Regions from separate parts of the Homo sapiens genome. Here regions 1, 2, 3, 4 and 6 are each linked to region 5. Evidence: promoter capture Hi-C in 16 types of primary human blood cells and fetal thymus (Javierre and others, 2016). All regions are on one chromosome and are shown on one strand. The core of a region is centred on a gene start or on the middle of the fragment in contact, and the rest is flanking DNA. Distances in the headings are between cores, read along the strand shown.

Evidence for each region. The method cuts DNA at HindIII sites, captures the fragments that hold promoters and counts their contacts. A CHiCAGO score of 5 or more calls a contact.
Region 1: a fragment that was not itself captured here is called in contact with the fragment with the promoter of KLHDC9 in region 5 in 1 of 17 cell types (total B cells); the score reaches 5.1 in total B cells.
Region 2: a fragment that was not itself captured here is called in contact with the fragment with the promoter of KLHDC9 in region 5 in 3 of 17 cell types (total B cells, naive B cells and megakaryocytes); the score reaches 5.6 in total B cells.
Region 3: a fragment that was not itself captured here is called in contact with the fragment with the promoter of KLHDC9 in region 5 in 2 of 17 cell types (total CD8 T cells and activated CD4 T cells); the score reaches 5.8 in total CD8 T cells.
Region 4: a contact is called between a fragment that was not itself captured here and the fragment with the promoter of KLHDC9 in region 5, in 3 of 17 cell types (naive B cells, M2 macrophages and erythroblasts). The highest score is 6.0, in naive B cells.
Region 6: a contact is called between a fragment that was not itself captured here and the fragment with the promoter of KLHDC9 in region 5, in 1 of 17 cell types (naive B cells). The highest score is 5.6, in naive B cells.

What each region holds. Positions count from the first base shown.
Region 1 is chr1:160,619,243-160,623,142 of GRCh38, reverse strand. SLAMF1 (signaling lymphocytic activation molecule family member 1) reads left to right here. Exons shown (of 7, transcript NM_003037.5): 5 at 3,294-3,367. Among named protein-coding and RNA genes, the nearest start is that of SLAMF1, 26 kb to the left of the region's middle. The HindIII fragment of the contact is 1,693 bases long and covers 925-2,617 here.
Region 2 is chr1:161,372,081-161,375,705 of GRCh38, reverse strand. No RefSeq gene overlaps it. Among named protein-coding and RNA genes, the nearest start is that of CFAP126, 6.0 kb to the right of the region's middle. The HindIII fragment of the contact is 1,575 bases long and covers 1,044-2,618 here.
Region 3 is chr1:160,804,049-160,807,908 of GRCh38, reverse strand. All of the region lies in intron 2 of LY9 (lymphocyte antigen 9), which reads right to left. Among named protein-coding and RNA genes, the nearest start is that of LY9, 9.8 kb to the right of the region's middle. The HindIII fragment of the contact is 828 bases long and covers 890-1,717 here.
Region 4 is chr1:160,664,548-160,668,572 of GRCh38, reverse strand. No RefSeq gene overlaps it. Among named protein-coding and RNA genes, the nearest start is that of SLAMF1, 20 kb to the right of the region's middle. RefSeq lists enhancers at 2,518-3,079, 3,093-3,152. The HindIII fragment of the contact is 378 bases long and covers 2,231-2,608 here.
Region 5 is chr1:161,095,935-161,099,788 of GRCh38, reverse strand. KLHDC9 (kelch domain containing 9) reads right to left here and starts at 1,428. Exons shown (of 4, transcript NM_152366.5): 1 at 727-1,428; 2 at 284-443; 3 at 1-191. The coding sequence starts at 1,253. RefSeq lists silencers at 1,005-1,054, 1,115-1,294. The HindIII fragment of the contact is 8,697 bases long and covers 1-2,273 here.
Region 6 is chr1:160,755,100-160,759,068 of GRCh38, reverse strand. No RefSeq gene overlaps it. Among named protein-coding and RNA genes, the nearest start is that of SLAMF7, 18 kb to the right of the region's middle. RefSeq lists a silencer at 1,908-1,977 and an enhancer at 3,528-3,577. The HindIII fragment of the contact is 1,098 bases long and covers 1,479-2,576 here.

The DNA.
Region 1 (3,900 bases), core at 522-3,021, 480 kb after region 5:
TGGGATCCTACGCCATACTCTTTCCTCAACCACACTTGGCTTATCACATGGTTGTGCTCTAAGGGAATAGTGCTCCCCATCCCACAATTCCCCACTACCTTCCCCAACACACATACCCATCCTCACCTCAACCCCATTCACCATTTGTCCCTTGTAAGTTAGCAACACACAAAACTGCCTCAAACTTGCGGTAAAATTTATATTTAGTTGCTGCACCTTTCATAAAACCTTGCTAAAGAAATTATATTGGCAGCTTCTAATGCTATAATCATCAGAATGCAGCCTGACGCTGAAGGCTTTTCAATTTCATGACTCTTTGGCAATTTCATGTCCAGGAGAATACACTGATAAAGAATGTGGGTATAGGCATTAGACAAACTTACATTCAGATGCAGATTTTGCTACTGACAAGCTGTGTGATCAAATGACTTAACTTCTCGTCTGCAAAACAGGGGTAATACTATGTACTTCATGGTATTGTGGTGGAGATTGGTATCAATACACAGAAAACACTGAACACAGTGGTTCCCATCGATGGGTGATAGATAGATAGATACATAGACAGATAGATACATAGACAGATAGACAGATCTCTTAGTGTAGATGAATTAAAATGGCAATGTGTAAGTGCTATGGCCAGGAGAAGCTGCACTGGAAGCATCTGGAAACAATACCTAGAACAGATTGAAAATATTTTAAGTCATGGTAACATAAGACTTTATGCTTCAGGTAAAAGCTGAAAAGGATATTAGATACTCTATGCCCTCATTTTACAGTTATGGTAAGAGAAAAGACCCATTGAGATGACGTGATTTGTCCAATGCCACACAGCTAATGATGGCTACAATGTAGATGTCCTAATTTTAAGGCCAAGACTTTTTCCTTAGAGCCTAAGACCTTGCTGACTTGGAGCCGAGTTAAGCTTACTCCTAAAAACCTGTTCTTGCACTGGGGAAAATAACCTGAGACTAAATTATCTTGGTCCAATGGTCCTTTTAAGCAGCAACAATCAACCTCACCTCTTCCATCTGTCTGACCATTTAGGACTGTCCTTCCAGTTCTACATTTGACTCTGAGCTGACCTGCAAGACTGAAAGTCTTTGAGGACTGTAGTCTGTTCTCTACTCTATTTGTAGCCACTACAGCACCTAGGAGAGTGCTGGGCAGGCATGTCTTACTTTGCAAACACTCGTGGGGACTAACTTGAACCTCCTCTGCTACCTCCAACTGCTTCTTGAGTCCTCCCCTCCATTTTACACACACACACACACACACACACACACACACGCACTCACGCACACTCCTCAGTCAGGATCAACTCTGACCAAAAAAGCGAAGTTGAAACCACTAGGCACACCGTGCTCATACCCACACACAAAAAATCCCATGTTGACTTTCCTTGAATTCCTGGAACTTCATCAGTGTCTGCCCCACATTTCCTCCCCAAGACTCACACCCTCACGCAGCACATTCCACCATGCTCACCACATACACACTGGGCCTTTCCCTTCCAAAGAAAAATGTGCCTCTCCTAAAAATGCTATTTCCTCAGAGATGTGCCTTTTTTTTTTTTTTTTTTTTTTTGAGATAGATTCTTGCTCTGTCACTCAGGCTGGAGTGCAATGGCATGATCTCGGCTCACTGCAACCTCTGTCTCCTGGGCTCAAGCAGTTCTTCTGTCTCAGCCTCCTGAGTAGCTGAAATTATAAGCGCGTGCCACCATGCCTGGCTAATTTTTGTATTTTTAGTAGAGACAGGGTTTCCCCATGTTGGCCAGGCTGGTCTCAAACTCCTGACCTCGTGATCTGCCCACCTCAGCCTCCCATAGTGCTGTGATTATAGGCGTGAGCCACTGCACCCAGCCCAGTTTTTTAAGAGAATAAATTAACTGGTGTTAAAATAAGTCTACCTTAAAGGCTGTGATTTTCTGGGTCCAGCCTCCATTGCCTCTGCCTGGACTTTGCAATAATCCCATAATAAACCTCCATCCTTCAGTCTGCCACTTTCCCACCATCCTTACTGCTGCATGATGTATACAAAGGATACTGTGCAACTTTAGAAAGAATGAGATAGGTCTACTGTGCTAACATGAAAAATGTCCTCAATACATTTTAAGTGAAAAGATCAAGTTACAGAGAAGTGTGTGCAGAATGACACCTCTTGTGTGGAAAAAAGTCTATATAAGTATAGCAAATATCCAAAACTGCATTGTCTAATATGGTAGTCACTAGCCACATGTGGCTTTTTAAATTTAAATTAATTTGAATTAAATAAAATTTAAAATTCAGTGACATTAGTCACAGTTCAGGTGCTCCATAGCCCCGTGTCTGTAAGCTGTATTAGACACTGCAGATATGGAACATTTCCATCATCTCAGAAAGTTCTGTTGCACAGAGCTGATCTACAGGGATATACATCAAACTTTTAAAAATGGTTTCTTCTTTTTTTTCCCACTTCTTTTCACAGGTATTGAAAAATACGGTTTCTTTTGGGAATGAAATTGGGTTGGTTAATGGAAGAAGGGGATTTATACTTTTTACTTTATACTTTATATATTTCTTCACAATTTTTATTTTATGATGAGAATAAATTACTCCTATAATTTAAAAAGAAAGCTTTTTAAAATTGGCTAAAAATTAAAATATTCTGCAACTTATTAATTTCCAGAGACCCTAGGCCCTGAGCAAAATTTCCAGATGGTGGGCAACAGAATGACATTGTTGCTTTATTTTCTAAATAGTCCCAGGTGGAACATCCCTCTTACACGTCCCCCCGCCCTTACCTCCCACACATCAATTCCCCCAGAAATAGGGAGGTGAGAAAGCTGTGAGTGAAGCAACATACTACCAGCTGGAAAATACAAAAGAGGTATAAACAACTAGCCCTGCCCTCAAAGAACTTAGAATCCTATTAGGAGACCAGATATGCACATTGAGCAACAGAGATTAAAGTAATTGAATGGTACACCAATGAGAAAAACACCTAATGCGTATTGGGCATTTGTTATGCACCAGGCAGTGTTCTAAACACTTTACAAGTGGTATCTCATTTAATTATCACAACAGCCCCGTGAGGCAGGTATTTCAAATCCCATTTCACAGATAGGCCTAGAGTGATCAAGTAACTAACCTAAGACAATATGACAAATGTGCAGGGGGGCTGGGACTCAGGGCTTTGTTTCCATTGTGCCCTTGGGGAAAGTGGGTATGCAAAGGACAGTAAAGACCAGGTCTGAGTAAGGAGCTCCTGCTGGGGACCAGAGGGAGATAACCATTATGGTTTCTTTTCACCAGGTAAAACGAACCATTACCAGACAACAGTGGAAAAAAAAAGCCTTACGATCTATGCCCAAGTCCAGAAACCAGGTGTAAGTTCTATATTTTGTTTGAGATGAACCTGTCATGTTTCCTAGAGTATTCCTGGCCAGTCTACCTTGCCTGTTGGACATTCACAGTTTTCCATCCAGAGCAGAGGAAGGTAGGGAACAGGAGTCAAGAACAAGAGTTCTCCTAAAGTCACTAAACGTCAGTGTTTGAAATAATGGGCAACACTGGATAATTTTCTGGTCATGAGTCTTCACAGGAAAAAAATGAAGAAGCTGGAAATACATACTGTATGACTCTTTCCAGCTCTGGCATTGTAGGAGTCTAGGTTCCATGTTAGTCAATTATTTCCTTTTCTAGGGAAAAGAGTGCAGGCTTGAGGAGAGAGGAGGTTTGGAAAAGCTATTGTGTGACATGTTGGACTGATCCAAGTTTAGGATTTACTAAGTGCAAAAGTGACAAGGAAGGTAGGATCTTCAAAATTCTAGCTAGAGTGTGGTTAAAGAGATGAAAGATGAGATGGAAGAAAGAAAACTGTGACAGAGTGATCACTGGACTAAGAAGTGAAGGATGGAAA
Region 2 (3,625 bases), core at 582-3,081, 280 kb before region 5:
ACCCTTTCTTTCTTTCTTTTTGATACGGAGTCTCGCTCTGTCGCCCAGGCTGGACTAAAGCGGCACGATCTCGGCTGACTGCAACCTCCGCCTCCCGGATTCAAGTAATTCTCCTGCCTCAGCCTCCCAAGTAGCTGGGACTACAGGCGTGTGCCACCACAGCTGGCTAGTTTTTGTATTTTTAGTAGAGACGGGGTTTCACCATGCTGCCCAGGCTGGTCTTGAACTCCTGACCTCAAGTGATCCGCTGCCTCAGCCTCCCAAAAAGCTGGGATTACAGGCGTGAGCCACCGTGCCCAGCCCCCTAATCTCTCTTTACTGATAGTTGTACTATATTTACAAGATTGCCAAGAAATGTGGAAAAGTTAATGAATACATATTAATGGTTTATTAATATATTTAAATACATGATAAAATAATAGTATCTATTTCCAGACTTCATGGTCAACCTGTATATTGTTAAAGCACATAGCCAAGATATCCTATACTGGTGCCATTATAACCATCATTTATTCTTAGTTATGCAAGTAAACAAACTTAATTCACACCACTAGTGAGAGATACTGATGTCTTTTCAGTCATTTTGGTTGTTTAAAGCTTGTTCTTTGGTCTTTTTGTTTTGTTTTAAGAAATAGTGTTATAGGCCAGGCACAGTGGCTCACGCCTGTAATCCAACGACTTTGGGAGGCCAAGGCAGGTGGATCACCTGACGTCAGGAGTTCCAGACCAGCCTGGCCAACATGGCGAAACCCTGTCTCTACTAAAAATACTAAAATTAGCAGGGCATGCTGGTGTGTGCCTATAATCCCAGCTATGGAGGGGGGCTGAAGCAGGAGGATCACTTGAACCTGGGAGGCGGAGGTTGCAGTGAGCTGAGATGGTGCCACTGCACTCCAGCCTGGGCAACAGAGCAAGATTCTGTCTCAAAAAAAAAAAAAAAAAAAAAGGAATGAAAGAAAAGAAAAAGAAATAGTGTTAAATAGCTCTATGAATGCTGCAGAGAGGGCTACCCCATAGGCAGTGTGTGGGGAGTATACAAAGCTTGTTCTTTGGCTCCTCAGGAAGGGGATCTTATCAAGAATATTATTCTTTTGTGGTATTGTCAGTGGAAAGGAGAGATGTAACAGCAGTCTCCGAGAGAGGGAGCCTTAGTCTCAGGAAAGAAAACTGGATCAGCTATTTTAACTCTATAGAGAAGTTTTGAAACTATAGCTTTTACATTTGTAGCCATGCATCTCTTCAGGGGTCAGAACTACGCCTTCATTTCCTATAAGGAAATCTACAAAAACCAGGGTGTTTGAATAGTTCAAAATTTGGCCAGTAGCTTGGTTGGATGAAATCCTGTTAGCCCAGGAAATGGGGCAAAAGCCAGGTCTCCTATCCAAGACCCATCAACACCTGACCCAGTGAGGTGACATGGAGGGCACCTTGGAGCTACTTAGAAGAAACCTTAGTAGAGAGCTGATGGTATAACTAGAGACAGTGATTCAGGTGGTTACACTGTGTAATAGATGAGATAAATGCCCCATTTTTACTATGAAGGGGTTACTAATAATTTTTTCTGGTTTTAAAAATTGCCATGGGAGGCCGGGCGCGGTGGCTCACGCCTGTAATCCCAGCACTTTGGGAGGCTGAGGTGGGCGGATCAACTGAGGTCAGGCATTCGAGACCAGCCTGACCAACATGGAGAAACCCTGTCTCTACTAAAAATACAAAATTAGCCGGGTGTGGTGGTGCATGCCTAAAATCTCAGCTACTCGGGAGGCTGAGGCAGGAGAATCGCTCGCTTGAACCCGGGAGGCGGAGGTTGCGGTGAGCCGAGATCGCACATTGCACTCCAGCCTGGGCAACAAGAGCGAAACTCCATCTCAAAAAAAAAAAAAAAAAGAAAAGAAAAGAATAAAGGCAGTGAGAAACAGAGATGATAAAGAAGAAACAGAAAATCTTTCTGATCATGTTCTATCTTTGAAATTCTAGTATCCTTTGAAGCCCAAACTATACTTCCTACCTTTGGAATCTGTTAAATACTCCTATTAATTATAATTTCCCCACTTCCCCTTTTTTGTTTAAGGTAACCTGAATGAGTACTTCTTACTTGGCAGTCTTAAGCCAATAATAATGCTAAAATAATTGAGCATTCATTATGCATCTTGCACCCTATTAGCATGTTACATATATTTAATGCTCAAAACTAAGATTATCCCCATTTTACATGTAAGGGTACTGAGACCCAGAAAGATTAACTTGTGTAAGGCCACACATTTAGGCAAAGCCAGAATTTAATCCAGGCAATGTGACTCTAGTACTTATGCTGGTGGTTGCCTTCACGTAGGTCCAATGTACACATCGCCTATAGAGTACAGGTTAAACTTGTACTTCAATAGCAGATAATCTCAGTCCAAATAAAAGATTTCCTAATGGTTTAGTTTCAGTCATCAAAGAATTTAAGTGAATGGAAAAAAGTATCTTAAGGCATACGTAAAGGATGGGGCCTTTAAAGAGCCCTTCCAACTTTGGAAGAAGTAAATCTGGTCCTAGTAAAAGACCATCTGCTGTACCTGAAGTCAACCAGTTCATCTGAAGAAAGGCTAAAATTCAATACACTTTTATTAGAAGCTTAAAATTGCCTGTTACTACTGATATTACAATTTCCTAGTGAAATCTTTTTTTTGTTGAGACGGAGTCTCGCTCTGTCGCCCAGGCTGGAGTGCAGTGGCGCGATCTCGGCTCACTGCCAGCTCCACCTCCCGGGTTCACGCCATTCTCCTGCCTCAGCCTCCCGAGTAGCTGGGACTACAGGCACCCCCCACCACGCCGGGCTAATTTTTTGTATTTTTAGCAGAGACGGAGTTTCACCGTGTTAGCCAGCATGCTCTCGATTTCCTGACCTTGTGATCCACCCCCCTGGGCCTCCCAAAGTGCTGGGATTACAGGCCTGAGCCACCGCGCCCGGCCTGAAATCTTAAATATTAGAATTCACATAGGATCAAGCCAGGACTCCACCTTGGATTTTTTTTTTTTTTTTTTTAGACGGAGTCTCACTCTGTCGCCAGGCTGGAGCACAGTGGCGCAATCTCGGCTCACTGCAACCTCCGCCTCCCGGGTTCAAGCGATTCTTCTGCCTCAGCCTCTGGAGTAGCTGGGACTACAGGCGCGCGCCACTACGCCCAGCTAATTTTTGTATTTTTAGTAGAGACGGGGTTTCACCATGTTGGCCAGGATGGTCTCCATCTCTTGATCTCGTGATCCTCCCGTCTCAGCCTCTCAAAGTACTGGGATTACAGGCGTGAGTCACCGCGCCTGGCCTTTTTTTTTCTTTTTTTTGAGATGGAGTCTCACTCTGTCGCCCGGGGGATGGAGTGCAGTGGCGCAATCTCGGCTCACTGCAACCTCCACCTCCCGGGTTCAAGCGATTCTCTTGCCTCAGCCTCCCGAGTAGCTGGGACTACAGGCACGTGTCACCATGCCCAGCTAATTTTTGTATTTTTAGTAGAAACAGAGTTTCGCCATGTTGGTCAGGCTGGTCTCGAACTTCTGTCCTCAACTGTTCCACCTGCCTCAGCCTCCGAAAGTGCTAGGATTACACGTGTGAGCCACTGTGCCCAGCGTGTACCTTGGATTTTAG
Region 3 (3,860 bases), core at 54-2,553, 290 kb after region 5:
GGGGGCCTGAGTGCAAGCCCACTCAGCCTGGCTTCCCCCTTCCCCCTTGGAAAGAGAACACATAGGCCAGCATCTTGGGGATTGCCCAACCCAATCCACTGCCTTGGGCACCTGAGCATTTTTCCACAGGGGCCTAGGGTGGGCCTAACTCCCAGCCACTACCACCTACCTGCAAGTGCCACCTGTGGTCCTGGAGACTGGTCTGCCCAGGCCATTGCAGCCACCATCAACATCAATGCACACTGCTTGGGACCCAGAGAATCATCCCACTACTGTCATTCCCCATGCCACACTGACTGCCAGGGGGCCTGAGAGCCTGCTCACCACCCTTCAGTCCACTGCTGCCATTATCGGTATCTGAGCAAGCCACCTGGAGACCTAAAAATCGACCTGCTGATAAGCATAAACACAAGTGACAGCATACACTGCCTTGAGGCACAAAGATAGGTATGCTGCCACCACTGTGGCCTGATGACTGGCCCACTTGACATTTCAATCCTCAGCGCAACTTCACCACAGCCTCTGCTAATAAACACACTCTGACCTACTGAGGAAATCACAGATACCACTAATGTTATTTACAGCCAAATAAATCATACAAATACTATACTACTGCATGCACCCAGAATCAAAGCCAGAGTGCCCTACCCCAACAACACAATAGACACATATTCAGGAAAAAGACCTCCCCATGAAAGTAACTTAAAAAAATAAGAAGAAGCTCAGTGAGATACAAGAGAATTCTGAAAAACAATACAAAGAAATCAGAAAAACAATTTTGGATATGAATGACAAATTAACCAAAGAGATAGATATTTAAAAAACAGAATGAATAGAATTCTGGAATTGAAGATTTCACTGAAGGAAATACAAAATATACTTGAAAGCTTCAACAATAAACTAGATTAGGCTGAAGAAAGAATCTCACAACTTGAAGACAGGTCTTTTGAAATAATTCAGCCAAACAAAAAATAAATAAATAAAAAGAATAAAAAAGAATGAGCTAAACCTTTGTTACATTTGGGACTTCATAAAGTGATAAAATATTCAAATTATTTCATCCCTGAGGGCAAAGAGACAAAGAGCTGATTAGAAAATGTATTTAATGAAACAATAGCAGAAAACTCCCCAAGTCTAGCAAGACTCTTAGACATCCAGATACAGGAGGCTCAGCAATTCCCAGGAAAATACAATGCAAAAAGATCTCCATGACACATCACAGTCAAACTATCTAAAGTCAAAGAGTAAATCATAAAAACAGTAAGAGAAAAACATCTAGCCACCTATAAATGAAAGCCCAGCAGGCTAATGGTGGATTCCTCAGCAGAAACTTTGCAGGCCAGAAGAAAATGGAATAATATATTCAAAGAGTCAACCAAAAATACTATATCTGGGAAAATTATTCTTCATAAAAAAGGAGAAATAGCGTTTCCCAGACAAGCAAATGCTGAGAGAATTTGTTACCACTAGATGGGGTCTTACAAGAAATGCTCAAGGGAATCCTAAACCCAGAAGCAAAAGATGACATTTACCATGATGGAAACACACAGAAGTATAAAACTCATTTGTAAAGCAATCACACAAAGGGTGAAGAGAAAGGACTTGAATGATGTCACTACAGATACCCACCAAACCACAGTGACAAACAATAAGAGAGAAAGAAACAAAGAATATATGAGACAACCAGAAAATAATTAACAGTATACAGGAAAAAGCTTCACATATCAATAGTAACTCTGAATGTAAATGGATTAAATTATCCATTTAAAAGATGTAGAATGGTGGAATGGATTTAAAAACATGATCCATCTATATGTTAATTACATGAAAATTCACCTTAACAGTAAAGATATATAGACTACAAGTAAAGAAATGGAAAAACAATTCCATGCAAATGGAAACCAAAAGCAAGCAGGAATAGCTAGCTATATTTATATCAAATAAACAAACTTTAAGTCAAAAACAGTAAAAAAAAAAAAAAAAAAAAAAGACAAAGAATGCCATTATGTAATGATGAAGGGATCAATCCAGCAAGAGGATATAACAACTCTAAATGTATATGCACCCAACACTGGAGCACCCAAATTCATAAAGCAAATATTACCAGAGAGAGAGTGAGAGTAAGAGTGTGTGTGTGTGTGTGTGTGTGTGTGTGTGTGTGTGTGTGAGACAGAGAGAGAGAGACTGCAACAGAATAGTAGTGGAGGACTTCAGCACTCCACTCTCAGCATTAGACAGAGCTTCTAGATGGAAAATCAACAAAGAAACATTGGATTTAAATTGGAGTTTGGACCAAATGGACCTAACAGATATTTACAGAACATTCTATCCAACAGTTGCAGAATATACATTCTTTTCATTAGTAGATGAAGCATTCTCCAGGATAAACTATTTGTTAGACCACAGTACAAGTCTCAACAAATTTTAAAAAATTGAAATCATATCAAATATCTTTTCAATCCCAATGGAATAAAACTAGAAATCAATATTAACAGGAACTTTGGAAATGATACAAATACATGGAAATTAAACAACATGCTCCTGACCATTGGGTCAACAAAGAAATTAAGATGGAAATTTAAAAAAAGTTCTTGAAACAAATGAAAAAAAAAACACAACATACCAAAAGCTATGGAGTACAGCAAAAGCAGTGCTGAGGGAAGTTTATAGAAATAAATGCCTACATGAAAAATGTATAAAGATCACAAATTAATAATGTAACAATGAACTTTAAGGAGCTAGAAAAGCAAGAACAAACTAAGCCCAAAATTAGTAGAAGAAAAGAAATAATAAATATCAGAGCAAAACTCGATGAAGTAGGGACTAAAAAAATGCAAAGAATCAATGAAAGAAAAAGTTAGCTCTTTGAAAAGACAGACAAAATTAATAACCTGCTAGCTAGGCTAATTAAGAAAAGAAGAAAGAAGACCCAAATAAACAAAATCAGAAAAAGTGGAGACATTACAACTGACATTACAGGAATACAAAAGACCAAAATCCAAAAGACCGTCAGAGACTATTATGAACAACTATACTCTGACAAACTGAAAAGCCTAGAGAAAATGGATAAATTCCTAGAAACATACAACCTACCAAGACTGAATCAGTAAAAAATAGAAAATCTGAACAGACACCAACGACAAGTAGTGAAATTAATCTGTAATAAAAAAGTCTCCCAACAGAGAAAAGCCCGAGACTGATGGAGTCACAGCCAAATTCTACCAAATATACAAATAATAACTAATATCAATCCTCCTAAAACTATTCTTAAAAATCAAAGTGGGGGGAATTTTCCTTAACTCATTCGATGAGGCCAGCATTATGCTAATACCAAAATCAGACAAGGACACAACAACAAAAAGAAAACTACAGGCCAATATTCCTGATGAACATAGATGCAACAATCCTCAGCAAAATACTAGCAAACAGAATCCAACAGCATATCAAAAAGATAATACATGATCAAGTGGGATTTATCCCAGGGATGCAAGGATGGTTTAACGTATGTAAATCAATAAATGTGATACATCACATCAATAGACTGAAGGATAAAAACCATATGATCATCTCAATGGTTATAGAAAGAGCACTTGATACAGTCCAAATCCCTTCCTGAAAAAATTTCTCAACAAACTAGGCATAGAAGGAATATACCTCAAAATAGTAAAGCCCATATATGACAATTCCACAATTAGCATTGTACCAAATGGGGAAAAGCTGAAAGCCTTTCTTCTGAGAACTCGAACAAGATAAGGATACCCACTTTCACTACTTTTATTCAACATAGTACTGAAAGTTCTACTCAGAGAAATTAGGCAAAATAAAGAAATAAAAAACATTCAAAGTGTAAAAGAGAAAGA
Region 4 (4,025 bases), core at 1,170-3,669, 430 kb after region 5:
GCTGGGATTAGTGGGTCATTCTTGTAACCCTAACACTTTGAGAAGCTGAGGCAGGAGGATCACTTGACCTCAAGAGTTCAAGACCAGCAACGTAGTGAGACCTTGTTTCTACCAAAAAATTTAAAAAATTAGCCAGGTGTGGTGGCTCATGCCTGTAGTCCCAGCTACTTTGGTGGCTGAGGTAGGAGGATTGCTTGAACCTAGGAGATCAAGGCTGCAGTGAGCTGTGATTGTGCCACTGTACTCCAGCCTGAGTGACACAGTGAGACCCTGTCTTGAAAGAAAGAAAGAAAGAAAGAAAGAAAATAAACTATAAAAAGAAGAACTAAGTTCATTAAGAAACTATAAAAAGAAGAATAAACTAAGCTCAAAGCAAGCAAGAGGGAGAAAATAATAAAGATAAAAATGGAAAGAAATGAAGGAGAGAATACAAAAATAAGAGAAAAACAAATTTAAAGTTTGGTTATTTGAAAAGATCAGCAAAACTGACAAATGTTTAGGTAGACTGATAAAATGAAAAACGGAGAAGACTCAAAGGACCAAAATCAAGAATTAAAAGGGGATATTACTATTGACTTTAAAGGAATAAAAATGATTACAAGGGGGATAGTATGAACAATTGTATGGAAATAAATTAGACGAAATGGAAAAATTTCAAGAATCACACAGACTACCAAAACTGACTAGAGAAGACAGATGCGATAGATCAGATAGATAAAGGGAGGGTTCTTGCTTGCAATAGAATGCCAAATATGGAGTGAGGTGCTAAAGTGAAGAAAGTTATTATTTTGTAACTATCACAATTAAGACAGGCTCAGGCAAAAATTATCAATGGATGCTAAATCTCAGAGGAAATTTTGATGAGGAGTAAGATGTCTGCATGGCCTTCCACTGTATGCCAACACATAGTTATTAGTTAAAATCAAAAAAGATAACTATACAATAGAGAAATCTGGCAATCTGTTGGCAATATATTGGCCAGGTGATTAAAATTAACATTATCGATGAGAAGACATCAAGGGTCTCTAGATGTGATACCTTGAGGGTACAATGTCACTTGTGTAGTACCTAGTCTGGGAATGCATAATGTGAATCTAATCATAAGGAAATACCAAAAAACCCCAAGTGAGGAATTTGCTATTAAAAAAGAGAGGCTGTAATCCCAGGACTTTGGGAGGCTGAGGCAGGCGGATCATGAGGTCAGGAGTTTGAGACCAGCCTGACCAACATGGTGAAACCCCATCTCTACTAAAAATACAAATACAAAAAAATTAGCTGGGTGTGGTGGTGCATGCCAGCTACTCAGGAGGCTGAGGCAGAAGAATCGTTTGAACCCGGGAGGTGGAGATTGCAGTGAGCCGAGATTGTACCACTGCACTCCAGCCTGGGTGACAGAGCAAGACTCCACCTCAAGAAAAAAAAAAAAAAAGGGAAAGGGTGGGAAGACTGCATTCTTCAAATATATCCATGTCATAAAGGAGAAGATATAGCTGTGGAAATGTTACAGTTGAAGGGTACTAAAGAGATACAACAACTAAATGCAATACCTAATACTGGACTGGATCCTGACCTGGAGGGAAAATTATGGTTACAAAGGGTCAACCGACAAAATTGAAATGCAAACAGTAGGTTAGACAAGAATATTGTTATCAATGTAAAATTTACTTAAGTGATAACTATATTGTAGTTGTGTCAGAAATTATCCTAATTCTTTACACTGATGTATTTAAGATAAAGAGCCATGCCATATGCAACCTACCCTATAATAGTTCAAATAGAGACAGAAAGAGAGAGAGAGAGAGAACTAGCTAATATTAAAGCAAAATGGGCAAAACATTACAGAGAGGTATTCACAGTCACAGCCAACTTGTAGACCCCTCCCTGCAGGATATTTATAAGCGTGTTCTTTGTACTATTATTAATAATAATTTTTTCTTGCAGCTCTTTTGACATTATTTTCAAATAAAAAGTTAACTACACAGATTAATGAAAGGTCTGCAATACTTATTTCCCCTTGATGGTCCTTCAAGATGCTGAGGGTCTGTTCTGCATTTACCACATCCTCTTCTTTCCTTGTATAGGCCTCTCCTTTTATAGACCTGTGAGTTCTCAGAGTACATTATCATTTTCAACCTTGAATTCCCATTGAAACCCTTGAATTCCCATTGAATCATCTGCCAAAGACGACAGTTTATTTTTCTGTTGATCCAATCAAGAAAAGGAGAAAGCTTCCATGAATAATAAACAGATGGGGACTACAAGTTCCTGTGACTCTGCCGGGCTCTGCCCAATGTGTCTCTCCATTCTGGCTCCCAGGCTACAGGAGCACAGCCTCTGTCAGTCTTGCTATCTCTGGCAGAGGACAGCAACACAGAGCAGAAGGACCTCTTTAAAGCCTAGGTTTAATAATGACAACATTTTCATGCTTAAATCCTTCAAGGATAGGCTCGTTGGAGAGCCTACAGGGTTCTACTGATCCTTATGTGGCTTGGTTTCTGTGATTTTCTCCTGTCCAATTTCTAGTTTGGCCCCTCCTTTGCACTGAATGCTGCAACCTTCCTGAACTGCTAGCAGTTCCCCGAATTTACTCAATGCCTTTGCTCAAGCTTTTACACTTCCTGGAATCCCCTCCCACTCCTCGTTGACCTAACAAACTCCCACTCATTTGTTAAGACTCAAACCAATTGTTGCCTCTCCAAAGTCCAAGAACCACTTCTTAGGAATAGGACTCTCTCCCTGGTCCATAATCACCGTTTCCCACCCTCTTTGTGATAGGAATGATTACTACAAAGAAGACTTAGAAATCGTCAGCAGGGAAGCCCATAAAATTTGCATTTCCTAATTTTCTGTAATCTTGGTGGAGGACAGGAAGGAAGTGGCCAGGCCAAGGCCGTCTGGCAAGTTACCAGCAGGGCTGAGGCTGGAAGTCAAATACACATTCTCCTTTCTTTGTTGATACTACTGGGTACTCCCTGGGGCTTGACCCATTGCCCTTCTTATGTTCGAAAATGTCTTCTGGACTCTGTCAAACCCTAGACAACTCAATTTTGCAGGACCTTCTAGGGGGGCAATGTTGGAGGGCTTGTTGGCTCCTAGAGAGAGCACTGGAATGAGCATGTTTGGTTGGTCTTCAAGCTTATACCTAGTACCCAGAACCACATTTCAAGCTTCTGGGAGGTTGTGTGGTATAGGGGAAGGAGCATGACCTTTGGAGCCAGACAGCCTTGAGTTTGAGTTCCAGAACCGTCATTTACCAGCTTCTGAACCTCAGGAAAAGTAAACTTTCTAAACCTCGGTTTCCGTATGTGGATGATTTTTAAAATCAGGATTAAATGAGATAACCTCAATAAATCATTCCACATAAAGTCTGCCATACAGTAAGTGCTCAATAAGTATTAGTTGCCTTCCTCTGTCCCAAACTTCTCCTTCCTCTCTTCTGGGCTGGCAACTCTAATTTTAATGAATTAAGACAAGATCTCTTAGCTTAAGTTTCCCCAAGTGTAAAATAAGAGGGAAATGGTTGTATAACTCATATGACCCAGATCACGGCTTCTTTCTATTTTGCTTTTATCAATCTTCTCAATCAGGTCTGTGTACTGAGCACAAAGGCTGCCCATGGGTGTGACATGAACAACGGAGGTTTTGCTCTCAGAGGAAGTGGAGAGGGGTTGGGAGGTACCTGGGGAAATGCAAATTTCATGGCTAAGTAGGACTTCCCTAGGTCTGCTGACTTCCAAGATGCTTCTGAGGCATAATTCCAGTGATGATGTGAAGGTGTGGGGCCAGTTCTACCCCCACCAAAAAAGGCCACAATCAGTATATTCATTCCACAAACATTTTTAGCACTTGCTGTATGCCAGGCATTGTTAGATTGGGGAACCATGAAGGTAAATAGAGCATAATGAAACTCAATCAGGATATGGGTGGATTGACCTAAACCCAAGAGATTTGGTTTCTGGTTACGGCTTTTCAAAAACTAGCCATATGGTAAGTCCCTTAGAAGTTTTAGTCTCTAAGTATTAGCT
Region 5 (3,854 bases), core at 179-2,678:
TAGATGTAGAGATCATTGCAGATGGTGTCTCTAGCTCTGGTCAGAGTTTCTCCACCAAACAGCACAGCAAAGGGCCCGACCACAGAACATGAGTGATGCCGTAGTCCATGGGGCCCCTTCTGGGACCCCTGCCCACTGCTCACAAGCCTTGCAAGCTGTTCCATCAAATGAGGAGCAACAGGTGGTTCCTCCTTGGGGAGAAAGAAAGGACTGTCCGAAGAGACCTGGGCATCACAATTTTAGCCTCTTCCCATCCTAAACAAGATGTGTGAGGAGCTAATACCTTAATTTTCCCATGACTCCAATGCCCAGCTACTTCTGGTTCAGCTAAGTTGCAACCTCCAAAGAGCAATAGCTGATGACCTGGATGGGGTCCAGGAGTTTGGAGCAGGGCCGCACAGTGACCTGAGCGTGAGGCTGTGTGGCAGCCTTCTTGCTTGTAGCTGTGGACATGCAGAAATTCAGGGCTGAGTGGGTTTTCTGGAAAATGTAAGTGCCACCGCCCTTGCCAAGGATGGATGGAGAAGAGGCATGGGGCAGTGCGGTAGGTGGGATAAGAGGGAGGGTAATACTGTAGAGAGCTCAGCTAGCTTAAACATGGTAGGTTCCCCTGGAAGGAGGGTGCTAGAGTGAGGAGGTGGATAAATTGCCTGAGAAATCTGCTTAGGCTTTTGTTTTTCGAGAGTGTGGATGAGAGTGAAAGGTTTTGGGCGGAGGGTGCCATACCAATAGGTGCGGGCGCTGGGGTCCAGCCTTAATGTGTAGATGCTTCCATAGCGTCGCTGAGTGTGGATACCGCCCTCCCGGCCAGCCACCTGCAGCTCTCGGTCAGAGATTCGGGTGCAGGTGTGACTACTGAGGCCGGCGGGGGGGCAGTCACCAGGGGTCCCTGTCCACGCCTCCCACACACCGCGCTCTGTGTCCAGTGCGGTCACTGTGGCCAAGCGGCGAGACCCGTCCCAGCCGCCCACCACGCAGAGCCAACGCCCGTCCACGGGTGCCGCGTCGTGGTGACTGCGCGGGGGGCTGCCCCGGGCTCCCAATCGTACGGCCTGGCCCCTAGCTGGGTCGAAAACCACCGTATCGCTGCTGGGCTCTCTCGCTCCTCCTGCTAGGAGACCACCTACGAGATAGAACCGTCCCCGCAGTTCGGTGCATGAATGGAAAGCTCTAGCCAAAAGCGCGTCCCGCGCCACTGGCCTCCAGGCCCAGCCTGAGCCTGCGGCCCGACCCGGGGGCACGGCCACCGCCATGGGCCCCGGGGAGAGGGAGGGCGGTGGGGTCTGCGGCTTGGAACGAGCCCCTACATGGCAGGCCAGGCACCTCGCCTTCCGCGGGCTTCCCCGGGAACCTCCCCCTACCGGACGCCAGCCGGGGTTCCCACCTCAAGTCCCGGCTTTCTCTCCGTGGTCGCCCAGCAACCACTGCAGCGGCTGCAGCGCGACCGCTGCAAACCGAAGGTCGCAAAGCAGCAGTTACCGTGGAGACAGGACACCTGGGTGGCTATCGGGAACCGTATGGTGGTGCCACCAAGGCTACGGGAGCTGTATCAGGTCAATAAAAATCCTGCAAGATTGTTAACCTCAGAAAGTCGGAGGACAGTCGGGTCCTTAGAATAAACCCCTGTGATCTCCGCTGTGAACTGATTTGCGATTTTGACATTTGAGGTGCAGGTGCTGCTCCACTAGGGCCGGGAGGGATCATTTGGCTTCAGGGTTTCTTACTCGGGCTAACCACCCCAGGGATGAGCAAGGAAGGAGAAGCAAAAGTCAGAGGGTGGGGAAGTGAAAGTGGACTGACCACTGGCCCGAGAGACAGGAGACCTGGGTTCTAGTCCCAACTATGCCCCTGACCCTCAAAGGCATTGTTTCTCTCTAGGCCTTCTCAGTTTTGTCATTCATCAAATAGGCTGTTCGTTTATTCCCAAAGGCTTGAAGGTCCCGATTGATTGGGTGGGAGAGTCCTTTCAGCTCTGGCCACTAGAGGGTAGCAGAACCCAGTCTCTCAGGTGACACACACACACACACACACACACACACACACACACACACAGAGAGAGAGAGAGAGAGAGAGAGAGAGAGAGAGAGAGAGAGAGAGAGATAGAGAGAGAGAGAGAACCCACGCAGCCTTAGAAGGGTGAAGTGGGGGAAGAGTGAGAAAATGAGAAAAACAGACTCCTACCCTTCCCTGATATCTTTTATTTAAGCCAGTTTCCAGATATTAACTCTGTCCCCCAGGACCAAGTGATAACTGAAGAGGCCCAGATGCAAGCTTTCTGCTTTCAGCTGAAGGAGGAAATACAGACAGAATTTTCCTCCCAACACAGCTGGTGTGGGGCAAAAACAGGATCTGTGTCCTCTGGGACTGGGCTGTAAGTGGGAATGATGACTGCTACTTGTGGCCTTTGGTTTCTACACATCACCTTGCTCCCCATCATACCTGAGATACTGAGACCATAGAAAGTGGCCAGGCAGGAGAATCACTTGAGGCCAGGAGTTCAGGAGTTCAAGACCAGCCTGGGTAACATAGTGAGACCCTGGCGAAAGAAAGAAAGAAAAAAAGAAAAGAAATAAAGAAAGGAAGAAAGGAGACAGTGGCCAGGGCTGCAGTGAGGATGGGCATGTAATGCAGGGTCTGATAGCACAGCAGGGCTTTCCCCTCCTCTTCCCAACTCTTGGTCCTCAGAGAACACAGCATGGGGATGGCATGGGCAGGAAAGGCACAGTTACAGAGATTGGAAGATTACCAGGACCTGTTCCCCACCTGTACCTTAAAGCCAAGATTCAACAATAGCTTTGAAAGTCTCTGCCCTCCCAACTATAGCTTTCCCTGAGTATGACAGGCAGTATTCTCAGTTTTCCAAAATCATGGTAAGAATCTCTAAAAAATCACTAACTTTTACTGTCCTTGGCTGAAATTTAAAAGTCAGTCTTTTCCCTCAGGCTTCTTTCTCACTGGCTAACCTCCCAACAGCTGGATTCAGATCTGTCATACTCCTAGGATTAGGCAAGGGCTTGCCTCAGGGGTGGGGCAATTTTGCTTAAACCTTATTGGCCTATATGTCCATTTTAGGCTCTTGCTTTTGCCTAAGTCTTGGCTGTTCTGTTAGACTTACTTTCTGCCTTTCCTGGATAGAAATGGGAACTCCCCACCCCACGGGCCTTTCCAGCTCCTCTCTCCCAGCTTCCTCTCTGACTCTGAGTCCTTAGCAGTAGGCATCTTAGTTAGACATAGAGCTTGAACCTCACATACTCCTTGGCTGTACCCTCTCCAGTTCTGTACCTAGATGCTTCCAGTTCCTCCTAATAGCTGGAAGCATCTGTCCATTGCTTTGCCATCCCAAGACCCTGGGAGAGGAACTGCCTAGGACTCCTACCTTCTTAGGTTAGTTTGAACCAAATCCATATTTTGGAGGAGGGAGAAAAGAAGCCAGAAAGAGAGAAACAGAGAGAGGAAGAAAGCAAACCAGCCAACCTGGACTTGTATGACACATGCTTCACACCGCAGGACAGCATCTGCAGTGGTCTATAATGACCTTGTCAATGATACACAAACTGAAAGGGCATTAAGATAAGTGAAAGGGGGAACTGAGAGAAAATTGTGAGAGACAGGGAAAAGGGCAGCCAGGGCTGTGAACCTGCTTTCACCTGCTAATAATATCCAGGGACAACCTCTGTCCAGAAATGAGAGCAGGGACTGGATATCCTGAAAGTCTCGTAATCCTGATGTGATCCCCTGATGTTGGCTTTGTCTCAGTTGGCCAAGAGTCTATATGATCTCTAGCAAGCAAGCACCCAGCTTCCTACCTAGCCTTAGATGTCTATCCTAGCCCCAAATCTACGCCCCCTTGCCTC
Region 6 (3,969 bases), core at 778-3,277, 340 kb after region 5:
GTGAGCACCACCCAATCAGTTGAGGGCCTAAATAGAACAAAAAAGGCAGAGGAAGGCCAGATGCAGTGGTGCACACTTGTAATCCCAGCCACTTGGGAGGCTGAGGCAGGAGGATCACCTGAGCTCAGGAGTTTGAGGCCAGCCTGGGCAACATACAACTCCATGTCAAACAAAACAAAACAAAAAGGTAAAACAAACAAACAAACAAACAAAAAAAACCCCCAAAAAAACAAAAACAGAGAAAGAGCAAATTTGGTCTCTCTGCTTGAGCTGAGACATGCATTTTTCTTCTGCCCTTGGGCACTGGTAGTCTCATTTCTCTGGCTTTCTGGGTCATATTGAGAGTTACACCTTTGGCTCCCCAATTCTCAGGCCTTCCAAGTCATGAACTGAATTACTCCTCAGGCTTTCTTGGTTCTCCAGCCGCAGACAGAAGATCATGAGACCTCTTGGCCTTCCTAATGCGTGAGCCAATTCCTATAATAAGTCTCCTTTTATATATATTTACAAATAATCTATTGGTTCTATTTCTCAGGAAAACCATGAGTAATACAACCCCCTATATGTCTTATATGCCTTTATTTTCTTACCTACCATTTTAACTTGTAATGTCTGTTGATATCCCTGTCTCCCACTTGATTGTGAGCTCTTAGAAGTATGGGGAGCACATTGTAGACGCATAATAAGTTTTAATTGCAGGAAAAAATAACTTTTATAATTAGTAAAGACAAGCAGTACCAGCATTTATTTTAAAATAATAAATTTTAAATAAATTAATCAATTAATTAATACTGCCTAGAGCAGTAATACATATGAGCCGAACAAAACAAAACAAAACAAAACAAAACAAAACAACCCACAAAACCCAATTAGACAAAAGACAATCTTGGTCTCAACTACCTCATCTATAAAATGGTTATGTTTGTTATGAAGATTAAATAAATGTACATATGTATATACATGCACACATATATATATGTATTATTTAGAACAATGATTGGCAATTGTGACTGTACTAAACATTAAATATTATAAATGATCATGTTATGGTTTATCAACTCTTCCCTGTTGCTGGCTATGTTCTTGACAGATTGCAATAAAGAGTATGCTTAGGACTATAGTCAGAACTCCAAACATCTTTAAAGTCTGTCTACAAGTACATGAACTGAGGAGGCTGGAAGTTCCTCCTTCCATCTTCTTGGGATGAAATGAGAGGGAGGTGGGCCGGGCTGCATCCTGGGCTGCAGTCTGTGATAGGCTGTCCCCACCAGGAGGGTCTTGCTCATGGGTCTCCTCATGGAGGAGGATGATCCCCATGGGCCTGGATCCTCCTCATGGGCCTGGATATCTCTGAACATATGATGAACATTGCTTATGAAAAATTATTTGTAGGAAAATTGTGAGGCCTAAGAATGTTATTTTCTTTTAGTGATGGTCTTTGTTTGCTTCTGTAAGGTACTTGTGGGCACTCGTAAGCTTGGATCTCTTTAATCTAATACCAGTTTTGAGATTTTCTTGGCCCCATAGATGAATTAAAACTGGTGTACTTCTTGTTTACAAGAAGGATAAGTCTCCTAGGGTAAGTCTTTTGGGGTCCCAAGTCAAAAAGATGAGGGATTTACCAGTTCTCTAACCTTGGTAGCCCCAGACTCCAAACTTTGTCCTTCTAGTCCCAAGAGGCTATCAAAAGCAAAGGCCCATCTTCCCACCTCCTTTTCCAGATCAGCACACATTCCCAAGACAGTACTGAAAGCAGGAACCTCCTTATCCCTTAGATACCTCTTGAGAGCATCCTTCCCTCTCTCTGCATCCTACTATGCTTGTCCAACCTACCATCACCTCTCTCCTGGATAACGGTAAGAGCCTTCTGACTCAGTTTGCCTACATCCAGTCTTGACCCCCTACAATCTGTTTCCCATACTGCAACTAATGAAATTTTAAAAGTGCAACTCTCTCTGCTGGCCACACTGACTTTCGTTCTTTTAGGTCCTCTCACCACAAGGCCTTTGCACCTCTGGCTAGAAGGGTTTTATTTTCCCTTCCCACTTCTTGTAAGTAGCTCCTACTCATCTTCCGATCTCAGCTCAGTCTTCATCACTTTGGAGATACTGTCTCTGACCACAGGAAAATTTGCCATTCTTGGCTCCACACACCTCTCTTTCATAGCAGTCATCACTGCAACCATGTTATTTAAAGGATATTTGAGTGTTGGCCTCTGTCATTAGAATGTAAGCACCCTGAGGGCAGAGACCTCTGTTGTGGCCCACTGCTGTATTCCCTGAGTTCAGCATAATGTCCAGCACTTACTGGTGCTCAATAAGTACTGCTGAATGAATAAATGAATGAATGCATACATGATCAAATGAATGAGTGAAAGCCTTACTGAAATGGTACAGATACCTTCTTTACTTTCCACCAAGGTTTCAATGTTTACGAATTTGTTATTTGCACCTCACAAGTTGCAAACCACACAGTTCTGGAGGCTGCATGTAATGGGGCTATGAGGTGGTGTGACTTCTCACCCTGAAGAGCTGGTGGTTTCCTTTGCCTACTGGTTGAACTCATGAGGGGAAGCTTCTTTCTGCAACTAGCTTTGGGACAGAATTTATTGAGTGTCCAGAGACCAGATCTATTGGTCTCCCTAGGTCCTGTTTCAGTCACTGGTTTAAAAAACCCCAAAGTATGATTAACCCTAATTATTTATCATCTGAATGGGTTCTGAGGAGAGAGGGGAAGGCAGAACAGATGCATCCTCAGTCCCAGCATCCCCCTCTCCACGCCTCTGTCTTCACACACTGTGAAGCTCCCCTCAGCCTCCAGCAGCCCTCTCTGAGGGAAAGTCATCTTCTCCTCTGTCATTATGTGGAGGGTTTCTCCTTTCTCCCCACCCATTCTCACTCGAGGAGGTCTTTCCATCCTCCCCCACACCCTTACCATGAGGGTCTCAGACTTTCCCCTCAACCCCACGTAGTGAGTAGTGCCTCGTTTTTCTCACTGAGCACCTATTTAAAATTTCCTCTACTCTATTATGCAATACATACTTTCTCATTGAGGAATATTCAGAAAATGAATGAAAATAGGAAAAAACCAAGCCACCTAAGCTTTCACCCTCCCTAAACAACTGGTGTTACTATTTTGATGTTTTTTCTTCCAAATTTTTCCCTGTAGAGATTTTTTCTAAAACACAGCTGTAATCATATAGCACATTAAATTTGCATTCTACTTTTTATATTTGTGATGTCATAACATTTTCTAACTTGAAAACCCATAGTTGTTGTGTTGTTGTTGTTTTGTGAGTCAGAGTCTCACTCTGTTGCCCAGGCTGGAGTGCAGTAGCACAATTATAGCTCACTGCAGCCTCAACCTACCAGGCTCAAGCGACCCTCCCTCTTCAGCTCCTTCCTGAGTAGCTGGGACTACAGGCATGCACCACCATGCCTGGCTAATTTTTGTATTTTTTTGTAGAGATGGGGCTTTGCTAAGTTGCCTAGGGTGGTCTTGAACTCCTGAGGTCAAGTGATCCTCCTACTTCAGCCTCCCAAAGTGCTGGGATTACCGACATGAGCCACCACTCCTGGCCAACCCATAGTTTTTTTTAAACAATTTTTTTTTTTTTTTGAGACAGAATCTCACTCTATCATCCAGGCTGGAGTGCAGTGGTGCGATCTCGGCTCACTGCAACCTCCACCTCCCGGGTTCAAGAGATCCTCCTGCCTCAGCCTCCCAAGTAGCTGGGACCACAGGCACATGCTAAAAATTTGTTATTTTTAATTTTATTTTTGATTCAGAAGCTACATGTGTAGGTTACACAGGTATATTTCATGATGCTGAGTATAACCCATAATTCTTTTTTTGAGATGGAGTCTTGCTCTGTCGCCTAGGCTGGAGTGCAGTGGCGCGATCTTGGCTCACTGCAACCTCCCCGTCCTGGGTTCAAGCAATTCTCCTCCCTCTGCCTCCCAAGAAGCT